Regions from separate parts of the Homo sapiens genome. Here region 2 is linked to region 1. Evidence: promoter capture Hi-C in 16 types of primary human blood cells and fetal thymus (Javierre and others, 2016). All regions are on one chromosome and are shown on one strand. Each heading gives the region's core, a stretch centred on a gene start or on the middle of the fragment in contact. The rest is flanking DNA. Distances are from core to core; before and after follow the strand shown.

Region 1 (6,535 bases), core at 3,837-6,336:
TATATGGATTGGTGTTAAAATGATAATATACTTAACACATTAGGATAAATATGCTTTTTAAATGTGGTTATTAGAAGACTTAAATTTACATGTTTTACTTCCATTATATTTCTACTGCACAACACTGTTATGTAGGAAAGATACTGAAGTTTACAGAATGATTCTAAACCAATCTTTGTCATTCTGTTTTGCTGCTGTGCCCTTAGACAAAATGGTTACAGTGATTATCAGCTTCTGTATCATAAAAATCAGGTTTAAAAACAGTCCTAAAACCTACTGCTTATATTTTGGTATCTAAGTCTATTTTCCACTGAAAAGAATGGAGGTAAATTTGGAAAAGGAGCTCATGCCACAGCTTGGACAGATAAAATACAAAATTAAGCTGGAGTATCTTGTTTTTGCAGAAATAACACTGGAACCAGCTTGATGAGACACCCATTGGCCAAACCTGGGACAATTTGTGAATCAAAATAATGACAGCAATGGATTTAACCACTGAATAAAATTAAAAATCCATGAGTTCATACAGATAAAAACAACTGAGTAAATAATGGAGATGGGAAAGATTACCTTATGTCTGAATGTCAACTAATAATTATAGAAGGAATGAAGTCAGATAATCATCAACTGATGCTAAAACTTGTGGGTGAAACTTTGATTATACTATGTAAATATACTGTTCCCCAAAATAATTTTTCCACAAATTGCATATTAGTTACAATGAGATAAATAATAACTTTCAGGGATACATATGAGGAATACCAGCTTAACAAAATTTTCAAAGCTAACATCACCAACATTGGTACACACCAACATCATGAATCTCAAGATATGATGTACTAAGAAGGGCAGAACATCTCTTAAGTGGTATTCCTGCCAAAATGCATAACCAATCTAATCATGAGAAAGCAACAGATAAATTCAAATTGAGGGACATTCTACAAAATAGCTGCCCTGTACTTTTAAAAATGTCAAGGTCAAGAAATAGTAAGGTTGACGAAGTGTTCCCAATTGAAAGTGACTAAGGAGACATAATTACCAAATGTAATGCATGATCCTGAAGTGGATCCCAGAATAAGAGGAAAAAAAGCTAACAGAAAAAATAGATAAACAGATATAATCTGAATATGGACCATAAATTGGGTAACAGTGTATCAGCATTAAATCTTCTGGTTTTAATAACCTCACTGTAATTAGGTAAGACAGTATCCTTGTTTTTTAAAAATATACACTGAAGAATTTAGGGGTAAAGAGGTTGATGTCTCTGAATTACTCTCAAACTGTTCTGAAAAAATATAGAGAGATCAGTATAAAGCAAGAATGATAAACACAGCAAAATGTAAAACAACAAATGTAGGTACATAGGAGTTCTATTCTTCCAACTTTTAAGATTGAAATTACATCAAAATACAAAATTTTTAAATATTGGCCAGTCTCCCAGATCAGATATCCTAATGGACTATACAAGTCCTGATGATGTTTAAAAATATACAGGTGTATTTATTTTATTCTAGACCTGTTTTAAATTGTATGACTTATCAAATGCTAATTATATTATACATTTCATAAGATCCAGGACTATATTTGCTATTTCTCAATATCATAGTTAGTACTAGGATACTATTTACTACATCCAATAAGCACTCGAACATTTGTGACATGAGCTACTGAAAACTATAACACAGTACAGTATAGGATAATTATAGAAAAACAGTCAAATTATAGAAAGTACCACAATGTAAGTAGAGATATTAATTGGGACAAAAGGTTGTAGGACAACTCTTCAATGAAAAGAAAACTATGTGGAATGAACCAGAACAGTAGTTAAAAATCTAACATAAAGAGATGAATGCCACAATTAGAGGAAGGTAAATATCTCATTCCATATTAAGAGTTAAACGTTTACCTTTGTGGCTAACTACAAGCAGTCATGACAACTAAAACAACTTTCTACCCTATAAAATTAGAATATTATATGAGTTATAAAATGAATCAGATTAGAGTTAGGCTAAGAACTGAGATTCAAAATCTCATTAGGGGCTCAATACTAATTTGCTGTACAACCCTGAGACGCTGCCTACAATTCCATATCTCACTTAAAATTAAGATGTTTGGATCATTTCCTTTACCAAAAGACAAGAAGGATATTATTTTATAAAAATGATTGTAAGCAATGAGAGCACCGAATATTATATATATACTGAATATACACATATGTGTACGCATATATATTCACACATGTATACACATGCAAAGGGAAAATAATATGGCTTTTTTATAAATATGTTTATAAAGTAATGAATGTAAGGCACATTAATAGCAAAAGGTAATTATCCAAACTCCATTTAATCCCAATTCACACTATAAATAAGTGCTTAACACCTAAGATGCTAAAAAAAGCCCAATCGACAAGTGTATACTCTGTTTAAATGGATGTTATTGTTTATTTTAAAATAACAATGGGATTCGAGACCAGCCTGGCCAACATGGTGAAACCTAGTCTCTACTAAAAATACTAAAATTATCTGGGCGTGGTGGCGGACGCCTGTAATCCCAACTATTCGGGAGGCTCAGGCAGGAGAATCGCTTGAATCCAGGAGGCGGAGGTTGCAGTGAGCTGAGATAGCACCGCTACACTCCAGCCTGGGCGACAGTAAGACTCCATCTCAATAAATAAATAAATAACAAAGAATATGAGACAGGTTTTAATAGGGCTTAATTAGGATGGAGACTGTGGGAAACAATTCTCAAATATAGTTAGAAGCCAGGGACAAAATTTCTTTTCACATACGATACAATGTAATCACATATTGCAATAAAAGTGTAATACAGTAGTAACTTTCAATGTCTTCCAATTTTACTTGAATATACAAGTAGGTAAGGCAAAAAGATATTCTAGTCCCCTTTTCCATCAAATCCAATGAATTGTGTTTCATTTAAAGTTTGACTATTTTTCAAGTCTATCTATTTTTATGATGCAAAGCTATACTTAATGTATCTAAATAAGCAAGAAGACCAGAAAAAAAAACCAACCAAAATATTCCAAAACATAAAAAGACATCCTCAAATCACTTTGTGCCTTGACAAAACTTAACAGTAATATCATAAGCCAGTGTTGCAATGCTGTCATCCTACCTAATTCTACCTAAATGAGCTCAGTAATTTCTAAATTGGTTTCCAGAAGAGATCTTTACATAAGCAATTATCAAAAACAGCCCATTTTGTATTCAAGAAGCACAAACAACAATATTTAGTTTTTTAAACAATTTATATAAAGAATACCTAGAGGTTTTTTTTTACACTTCATAAACTAAAATCACTTACGAATACTTGACTAAAGCTATTTCTCATCATCTTTCCTTAGAGAAGACCAAAATACATTTTTCGTAAGGGCAAAACAAAAGCAGTAAATTACTTAAACATCACTTAAATGCCCCCTAAAGTAACCTTCCTTTCTCATACATTTTCCTATATTCATCGCGTTCTGCGGTACACATTTCTGAACTGAAATTGTATTAAGTTTAACCTAATACGATCTCTTCTCTACTAGTCAAAAAAAGATCTTAAGACGTTAACCAAATACATGGGAGGCGGGGTCGGGGGTGCGAGGTGGTGCCAGAGCAGATGGAAACAAGGTAAGAGAGTTGTTTTCTTAAGACACTAGGGTTACTCCCCAACTCCAAATGCCAAGATTCACTCGCCAGTAGAGCAAGCTGCTGCCACTATCCACTGCTTACACAATACAACCTTCCTTTCTACCTCTTCCCCTACACTCCCACCCATAACCCCCTTCCAAAACAAACACCCACAACGCGCCCCATTCCATAATCCGTGTTCGCCCCTCTAAGCCCACTAAACCAACCTGCTGGATAACAGCTCTATGCATTCGTCTTAGGCAAAAAAAGAAAAAAAAAAAAGCGACTGCAGCAAGGTCGGGAGTCCCACCATTCCTGTCACCCTAAACAATCCACAGGGTGAGAGCCCCAAGCCCAGAAGTTTGAGGCAAAACGATTCAGATCCAACCAAAAAGAGGGAATTGCAGTTGAATGGGGATGGGAGGTGGGGAGGGCGATGCGTATGCGTGTATATGTGTGTGTGTGTGTAAGGAAGAGTCCATCACATGACAGTGAAAGAGGACCAGAGTCGTCGGGGCGTCCGCAAGCAGACGGGGGGGAGGGTGTCGTTGCCGTGGCAACACCCCCCATCCGTCCAGACTTCCAAAGAGGGAGGAAGAACTTCAAATCCCAACCGTCAGCGCTCAAGCGGCTCCTTCTTAAAGGGGTACACACAGCGCCGCCGCCGAGCGCGAGAGGGCAGAGTTGGGCGCCCCCCGCCCCTCGGACGACGCCCCCGCCGCCCCTCGCCCCCAGCCGGCCCATCAGCGGCCCCCGCCCTGCGAGTGCCCGTGGGTCTCCAGGTCCAGGTCCCCGGGAACTGGCCGCGTCTGCTCACCCGGCCCCCGGCGGCGACAAGGGGGTGTGTGTGCGCTCGGCGGGGGCGCGGACCAGCCCGCCTTCCTCCGGCCGCCCTGCCCGCCGGCTCTCCTCCGCCAGGGCGCCGACCCACCGGGCCGCTTCCTCCGTCCTGTCAGGGTGGACGGCGGGCGACGGCGGGCAGCGACGGGCGCCGAGGAGTTTCGGGGAGAGAGCGAGCGGGCGGCTTCCGCGGGGGCTCAGCAAGCGGGTCCAAACTAACAGTTCCCGGGGAGCCCAAGAGCTGGGAAGGCGAAGGAGCGCGGACCGCGCCGGGCCAGCAGCCCGCAAGACAAAAGGCGAGCGCCGGGGCCGCCGCGCCGCGCCGCTCCCATCTCGCTCCCCCACCGAACTAACCCGAACGGGAGATTCAACTAAACCCCTCAGCCACAAACTCCTCGGGCTGCGACAGCGGTCGCCGCGCGGAGCCCGGGGCCCCGGCCCGCGTCTCTCTTACCTACACAGTGCATGAGGCGGTGGCGCCAAGAGTCGAGTTCCCGCCGGAATCCTCTTCTCTCCGCCGCGCACCGAGGGCTCCGGCACTGAGCGGCGGCGGCGGCGGCGGCAGCAGCGGCGGCGGCAGCGGCCATTCTCTCTCTTCCCTTGTCCATCTGCGTCCCGCGTCACGCGCCCTCATTTACATACGAGCAGCGCAGGCACGAGGCAGGGGCGCGAGCCCTCGGCGCGAGCCCCGGAGCGCGCGCCCCCCGGAGGGGGGTTGATTGACACGTGTCACTACCTTCCCTCTGCCCTGCCCTCCCCCTCCCACCGCTCCCTCAGGGAGAGGCGGGGAGGGAGCCAGAGGAGAAGGAAGCAACCTGCCGCTTCCGCTGACCCCGCCTCCCCACCCACTACCCTCCTCCCCCTCCCGCTGGAGTTTACTCAGGCGAGCCATACCGCTCCCGCCGCCCGCGAAAACCCTGAGCGGGAGCGAGAGACCCGGAGCCCAGCCAGGAACCGGCGTGCTAGTGGAGCGGACTAGCAACGCCTACTTTCTGCCTTCACTACGGGACTCCGACAGTCCGGAGACTTCACTTCCCAGGCTCCATTTCGCCAGGATCCCGAAGCTGAACTTGGCGCCGTGGCGCGTTGCTTGCCGGTCATTGTAGTCCAGAAGAAAGGATTTTTTTTGTTTGTTTGTTTTTCTTCCCCCCCGCACTTGGGTATGCAGGCTGGCCTGCAACTTCTCTGCGCCGCGCCGCTGGGGGGCTGAGTCTGTCGCTCCCTGCGCCCGGAACCATGCGCTGCCCGGTGGCCGGGTCTGACCCGACTGCTTTAGCTTCCTTAGGCTCCGCGATAGAAGGGTGGTGGAAGCCGCAAGAGTTGTCGGCTCCTTGTGGGTTCAGGCTGCGCTTTGCGTTTTAAGTGCTGGAAACTTTCCGGGGTCGCTGTCTTCCTGTCACTCCGCAGGGAAAGGGCAAGCCGGTCATTCGGCTACATCTGGAATAACTGCCAAACGTCCAGAGAGAGATCCCGGAGTGACTTCGGTATTCAAGGCGAAGAGATCTCGGAAAGCCAGAATATTTGCAAGGACTAGGAAAAAGATGCGGGTTTTTTTCACTGAAAATTACTTGCAGGGGACTGGGTGTAGCCGGCTGAAAACTGCAGAAGGAAAATTTTCTTTATAAGCTCCTGGAGGGCAGCGACCCACTGAGATCTCTGTACCGTGACATCTGTCACTCGCTAGACCCTAGTACAGTGCGTGACACGGGATTAAGCACTTTACAAAGGTTAATGGAATGAATTCTACCACGTGCTAGAGAAAATAACTTCTTCAGAGAGAGCTAGAGAGGAATCTTACGTTTAAATACAGACTCCAATCACAGTTTTTACTTTTGCACCAGAGCGATTGTGCGTTTGTTTCCGTATAAGTGCAGTTTATCAAGCCGAAGCTAAGCTACCCAACGTTTGCTAAGAAGTACTGTGTATTTCTGGAAATTTATTCACAAGTCTGTGGGAAATATGTTTAATTCTTCTTGGAAATCTCATAAACTCTGAATTCAGTACCACCTTCCCTGTTTTGTGGCTTATCCTTATCCACCTTCTTTTTCTTCCTATGAGAA
Region 2 (6,377 bases), core at 857-3,356, 6.6 Mb after region 1:
AGAAAGGAAGGAAAGAAGGAAAGAAAGAAAGGAAGAAAGGAAGGAAAGAAGAAAGGAAGAAAAGAAGGAAAGGAGGAAAGAGAAAGGCCCTACTTATTGAAGGATAGTGACCTCTCTGGAATCTAGAATAAGGGGAACAAGTGGCCAGAGGCTGCCAGGATGTGCACACTCCTTGGGAAGAAGGGTAGAATTCTAGGTCTAAATGATCCACCCTGGATTTTCAGACATCATTATCCCTGGAGTAGAGAAAAGGCACCCACCAGGCCCTCCACAAACTTGGCTGGAAATATTTCCAGATAATATCCTATTTTCCCTTACTGTTACTCTTTCTCTACTAGACAACCCTCTGGCCTATGACATGGACTTTCTCACCTGGAGGAAATGTCTTATGCAGCTAACCAGCTGCAGGGTCTCAAGTCAACCTAAATTAATAAAAAATAATTGCTAATAGCAAACACATACAAAGCACTATGAGCCAGATGCTGTTCCTTACACATTTGAGCCTATTTGAGACTTACAGCAACTTCAAGTTTAGTCCAATGAATTACTCTTATTTACAGCTGAGGAAACTGTTACTCAAAGAGGCAAGTATTTTGGCCAAGATGACAGTTCTGAGATTCAGCCCAGACAGTGTGTGTGCTTAATTGCTATGTTCTGCTGCGGCTGATAAATAGATATTCTCGTTCCACTTTATTCGTCTAAGGTGTGGTTACTGAAGATAAGTTCTCCCAGTCTGACAAGATGAACATGAACTGATAAAACTTCTGCATTGTCCATGTAGAGAACTAGTTTACAGAACTCTCAGTGGACAAGTGGGGATTTGGATTATTTGAACCCAGTCCAACTCTAGAGCCGCACTATTGACCATTGTACAGTATCACTATTACCATTTATTTATTCAATCAACAAATATGTATTAAGCTCCCATGTCAGGCATTAAGTGCTGGGGAAAGAGGAAAGAAGAAAATAGCCATAGTTCTTGCCTTCATAAAACGTGGCAGAGGGAGAGAGACAGGCACTGAACAGCTAAACACATAAATAACTATGTTGTTATCACGATGATAAGTGCTGAAAAGGCCAGCTACAGACGACAGGCATTGTGAGAGCATATAACAAGTGGCCTTGATCTACATTGAGGGTTAGGGAATGCCTCTCTGAGAAAGAAACATTTAGACAAAAACCTTAAAAATAAATGCAATCCCAGCACTTTGGGAGGCCAAGGCAGGCAGATCACCTGAGGTCAGGAGTTCAAGACCAGCCTGACCAACATGGAGAAACCCCATCTCTACTAAAAATACAAAATTAGCCGGGCATAGTGGTGCATACCTGTAATCCCAGCTACTCGGGAGGCTAAGGTGGGAGAATTGCTTGAACCCAGGAGGCGGAGGTTGCGGTGAGCCAAGGTCACATCATTGCCCTCCAGCCTGGGCAACAGGAGCAAAACTCCATCTCAAAAAAAAAAAAAAAAAGAATGCAAATTGTCCAGGCAGAGAGGGCAGAAAGCATTCCAAGCAGAGGAAACAGCCTGTGCAAAGGCCCTGAAGCTTTAAAAAGTCAGGTGCGACCCACAGACAGAGAAAACAACATGGATGTGTTGAGATGAGGAATTTGTCATCTGTGATCCTGCAGATGCAAGAACAGGGCATATCATGCCCCATCTGAGGAGTCCTGCTGAGGAGGTAAGCCTTTATCCTTCCTAAAACAAGAGGAAAACAGAAATGAGATTTAAGTGGGAAAACAACATGATCACTCATGAGGATTTGCCAGGATCAATCCACCAGTCTCCCTCTTTGAATCCTCTTTAGCAACAAAATGCTTACAAATTTGAAAGAATTTTCAGTACTATTTTTAATCACCTTATCCTCTCTCTAGTAAGAGACAGAAATAGTTACAAACTATAGTGGTGCTATGGCTTGCCATCAAAATCTCACTTTCATAATGAGACATCCCTCAGCTCTGGGAGTGCTTGCCACCTGCACACGATCCTCGTGTCAGCCCTCTTCAGAAACTTCCATGGCTAAAGAAAGCTGCCATGCCCAGGGGCAGCCTGAATACATTCTACAGGTATAAAGGCTTGGCCTGTCTACCAACTTAGGACAACTGTGAGCTTCAGAGCATCTGAACCCTCTGTGGGATCAGCTGAAGTCTTTGTTATAATGGCATCTGATGTACCCCAATGCAATTTGGCCAGTAACAATCCAGAGTTACCTCCAATCCCACAAGTTAAGGCCACAGTCCCAAGCAAGACTGAAGATGTCCCCACTCCAGACACCATCCATAAGTTCAGGGGTCTGCAGGCCACCAGCACTCCGGCCCAACTGGCTACAAATTCAGAGTTTCTCACAATTCCATCATATTTGATAATTTACTAGAATAACTTATAAAACTCAGGAAAGCACTATACTTATGGTTGCTGTTTTATTATAAAGGAAACAAATCAGAGCGTCTGTGTCCTCTCCCCATGGAATTAGAACATGTGACCCTCCCTCACATCCATGTCCTTACAAACTAGGATGTTCCACTGAGCTTCAGTGTCTGCAGTTTTTATTGGGGTTTCATTATGTAGCCATGATTGATTGACTGAATCATTGGCTCCATGATTCAACTCAATTTCCAGCCTCCTTTCCCTGCTTAAAGGTCAAGAGATTGGGCTGATAACATGTGGCTCAAAGCTTCAACCCTTTAATCACATGGTTGGTCTTTCTGGGATGACCAGTTCCCATCCTGAGTTATCTCCTTAGCACTAATTCAGATGTCGTCCAAGGGCCCAACATAAAGAGAGTAACTCTTTAGGGAATAAAGGGAATACATAAACCTAAAGAGAATAAAGGGAATACATAAAGAGAATAAAGGGAATATATAAACCAGGATACACAAACCAGGAAGTCACTGCATATTCACTAAAGAGAGCAACAAAGATACTCTTATGACTTGGGAGACCCCAAGGATTTAAAATGAACCAATCCCGTGAACCAGGGATAAAGGCCAGTCAAATTCATTGTCATGCAACAGCATCACAGTCAACTTTTCCTTATCTGATTCTACTTTTATCTTTTCTTTCCACTGATATTGATCCTAAATGTACTTCTTAATAAACATTCTAAATGCTAATCTTTGCCTCAGAGTCTAGTTTTCATGGAAGCCGACCTAAAAGATTTGGTGCCAGAAGTGGTGCCAGAAAGAAAGCAGACATTATGATTGGATTTTGGAGTTGGTCACCCATTGCTGGCTGGCAATGAATCTGTGGTGGAGGTAGGACACAAGGAAGCAGGGCAATTGTTAAAACTTTCACCTGTAGCTTACTGGGAAAAAAGCATGTGGTGTACTGCAAAAGGCATGCAGTTCTCACATATGGGGGAACTGGTAACTATAAGCTCCCTAGAATTTGATGGCTATTGCTAAGTAGAATTAATATTTTGGGGAGAGATAATGAAAGGCTGGAAGTTATTTATCTGCAATTCAAAACTAAGCATGAAAACCAGAAATCCTATGAGGGAGCATATAAAAAGGTTTTCATTTCTTGCAGTGGAAAGGCAGAGAAAACTGAAAGGCAGTTCCAGGACTTAAACATAATAGTAGCAGAAAATTAAGTGGAAACTTCCAAAGAAGATTAAACTCTCCACTTAGGCAATTGTGATATACCAAGGTTAGGACCCTGGATGGGAAATAGTGGGACTCTGACACATGGGTGGGGACATCTGGGTTGATGTACTTGAAAAATTTTGAATCCCTAGATTCCCCTCAACCCACTGAGTCTGCCAAAGTACTCTACTTTTCTGTATTAAAAGCTCGTGTTCCTCTCTTGTAAAATGATGCAGAGGTTTCCTCTCTGCAGAATAACGTCTACCACCCTTTTCAGGATACATAAACCAGGAAGTCACTGCATATGATATTCCAGGGACATCACTACATATGATATAAGTATATCATAAGCATCCATCTTTGGCTTAATTTGGTTGTTCAGATTGAGAACTTCCTTTGACGTTTGTCCATTTATTTTCCTCCAGATGCCTTATTTAATTTATTGTCTCCAAAACTTCTGTAAGTAAAGTTCCTTTGACTGCCATTTCTTACAGTGGGAAGGCAGAAAAAAGTATATGATATAAGTATCACATGATACAAGGTCATATCACTACATATGATATTCCAAGAACATCTGATACGGTGTGGCTGTGTCCTAACCCAAATCTCATCTTGAATTGGTGTTCCCATAATTTCCATGTGTCTTGGGAGAAACCTGGTCGGGGGGTAATTGAATCATGGGGATGAGTCTTTCCCATTCTGTTCTACTGATAGTGAGTAAGTCTCAGGAGATCTGATGGTTTTATAAAGGGGAGTCCCCTGCACATGCTCTCTTGCCTGCCACCATGTAAGATGTGCCTTTGCTCCTCCTTTGCCTTCTGCCATGATTGTGAGGCCTCCCCAGCCATGTGGAACTGTGAGTCCATTAAACCTCTTTCCTTTATAAATTACCAAGTCTTGGGTATGTCTTTATTAGCAGCGTGGGAACAGACTAATACATCAGAGGACACATAATATTGGCATACAATCCTACTCAAAGAAGCTGTAGGACCCAGCCAACAGGTACCAGCAGGAACCAGAGGAGTTGGCACAGGACCAAATTCTTTTTTTTTTTTTTTTTTTTGAGACAGAGTTTCGCTCTTGTTGCCCAGACTGGAGTGCAATGGCGTGATCTTGGCTCACTGCAACCTCCACCTCCTGGATTCAAGTGATTCTCCTGCCTCAGCCTCCTGAGTAGCTGGGATTACAGGCATGTGCCACCACGCCCAGCTAATTTTGTATTTTTAGTAGAGATGGGGTTTCTCCATGTTGGTCAGGCTGGTCTTGAACTCCCAACCTCAGGTGATCTGCCCGCCTCAGCCTCCCAAAGTGCTGAGATTACAGGCGTGAGCCACCACGTCTGGCCAAGGACCGAATTCTGAAGGTTATGAATGTCAGGGTGGGGAGGTGGAGCATACAGTTAGATAAGGGAGAATTTATCAAGTTGGTAATACTCTCCTAGCATACAAGATTTAACACTCATGCAAGGATCCTGGGTGATAGTGTGAACACACTTAGGATGTCATCTAGAAGCACAGAGAAATCAATGGCTCACAGTACACCTGGTTACATAGAGATGCCAAAACTGCTTTGGTTTACATTGTAAGGAGGGACTAAATGGCTCAAAGAAGTGAGCTTGCTAGAGTGAATATACTTATATAAAAATGGAAAACCCAACAGATGAATATATTTCAAAGGAAAGTTCAGAGTATACACCACTTACCAAATCAATAAGGCATTATCTGGTTAGAGAGGAATCAGCATCACTCTAAGACTCAGCAGTGGTTCTCCCTGTAGTCCAGGGTGAAGACAGAAGATACCATTTCAGAACTGGGTTCACTGAGAACAGTAGAGATGATGGAACCTTGTAACACTGAAGTGACATGATGGCACTCAAACTTCAACAGCCAAATGGACACTGCAAGGCAAGAGCGGCAGTCCAGGGGGCTTTACCCACAGATGTTTTGGAGATGACAAATAAGCCATCTGGAGCAAAAGAAATGGGCAACCATCAAAGAAAGTCTTCAATCTGAACAACCAAATTAAGCCAACAATGGATGATCAAGAGGTTAAAGGCTGATGCTCTGATACAAAGTCATGATCACTTGCCCAGTTTCTGGACTTGAACCAGTTTTTGGACCTAGAATATATTTAATTGGAGGGAGAGGGCATGTCCCTAGAAGAAAGAACTCTGCAGCACCAGCACAAGTGTACACAGTAATAATTCCCCAAGTCCTTCCCTCAAGTGATCTATAGCCATTTACTTAGGTGGCCATACACTGGAGAAAAGGGAATATCTAACGATTTCAAGGACATCATGGACACAGTGTGTAAAATGACATTGATACCAAGAGACTCAGAGTTTCATTATTGGCCCTTTCTTAGCATGGAGATATATGGAAATCGAGACTGGATGTCTGGCCCAGGTCCAGCTCATGGTAAGTCTACAGCGTTCTCAAACTACTTGCTATGCCCCCAGTATACAAACATACACATAGAATAAACATCATTAGTAGTTTGTGCGACCCCCATATTAAATTCTGGATCTGTAAGGGGTAAGAGCTATCATACTGGGGAATTCCAAGTGGAAGTTTAGGAAGTTGCACACACTTCCCATCCCCTGAAAACTCAGCCAAGATACTAAACAAAAAACAGCCCAGGGTGGAATTATCAGTTTCAGCTCTGGCGTGTAAAGAGCTTGGAAGTTACTGCTCCCTTTCTTACAAGAAGAATAGCTGAACAAACTGAAAACCAATGGCTTTTCTTAGAGCCATTAGAGAACCAGGTTGCAGGGTAAATTGCCATGCTGAAATCTG

The links. The method cuts DNA at HindIII sites, captures the fragments that hold promoters and counts their contacts. A CHiCAGO score of 5 or more calls a contact.
Region 2: a contact is called between a fragment that was not itself captured here and the fragment with the promoter of LCORL in region 1, in 1 of 17 cell types (total CD4 T cells). The highest score is 5.5, in total CD4 T cells.

What each region holds. Positions count from the first base shown.
Region 1 is chr4:18,016,669-18,023,203 of GRCh38, forward strand. LCORL (ligand dependent nuclear receptor corepressor like) reads right to left here and starts at 5,087. Exons shown (of 8, transcript NM_001394446.1): 1 at 4,930-5,087. The coding sequence starts at 5,083. RefSeq lists silencers at 4,299-4,628, 4,949-5,408 and an enhancer at 5,459-5,718. The HindIII fragment of the contact is 12,000 bases long and covers 1-6,535 here.
Region 2 is chr4:24,587,710-24,594,086 of GRCh38, forward strand. LOC124900682 (a long non-coding RNA gene) reads right to left here and starts at 5,805. Exons shown (of 2, transcript XR_007058078.1): 1 at 5,285-5,805; 2 at 878-1,696. The HindIII fragment of the contact is 1,128 bases long and covers 1,543-2,670 here.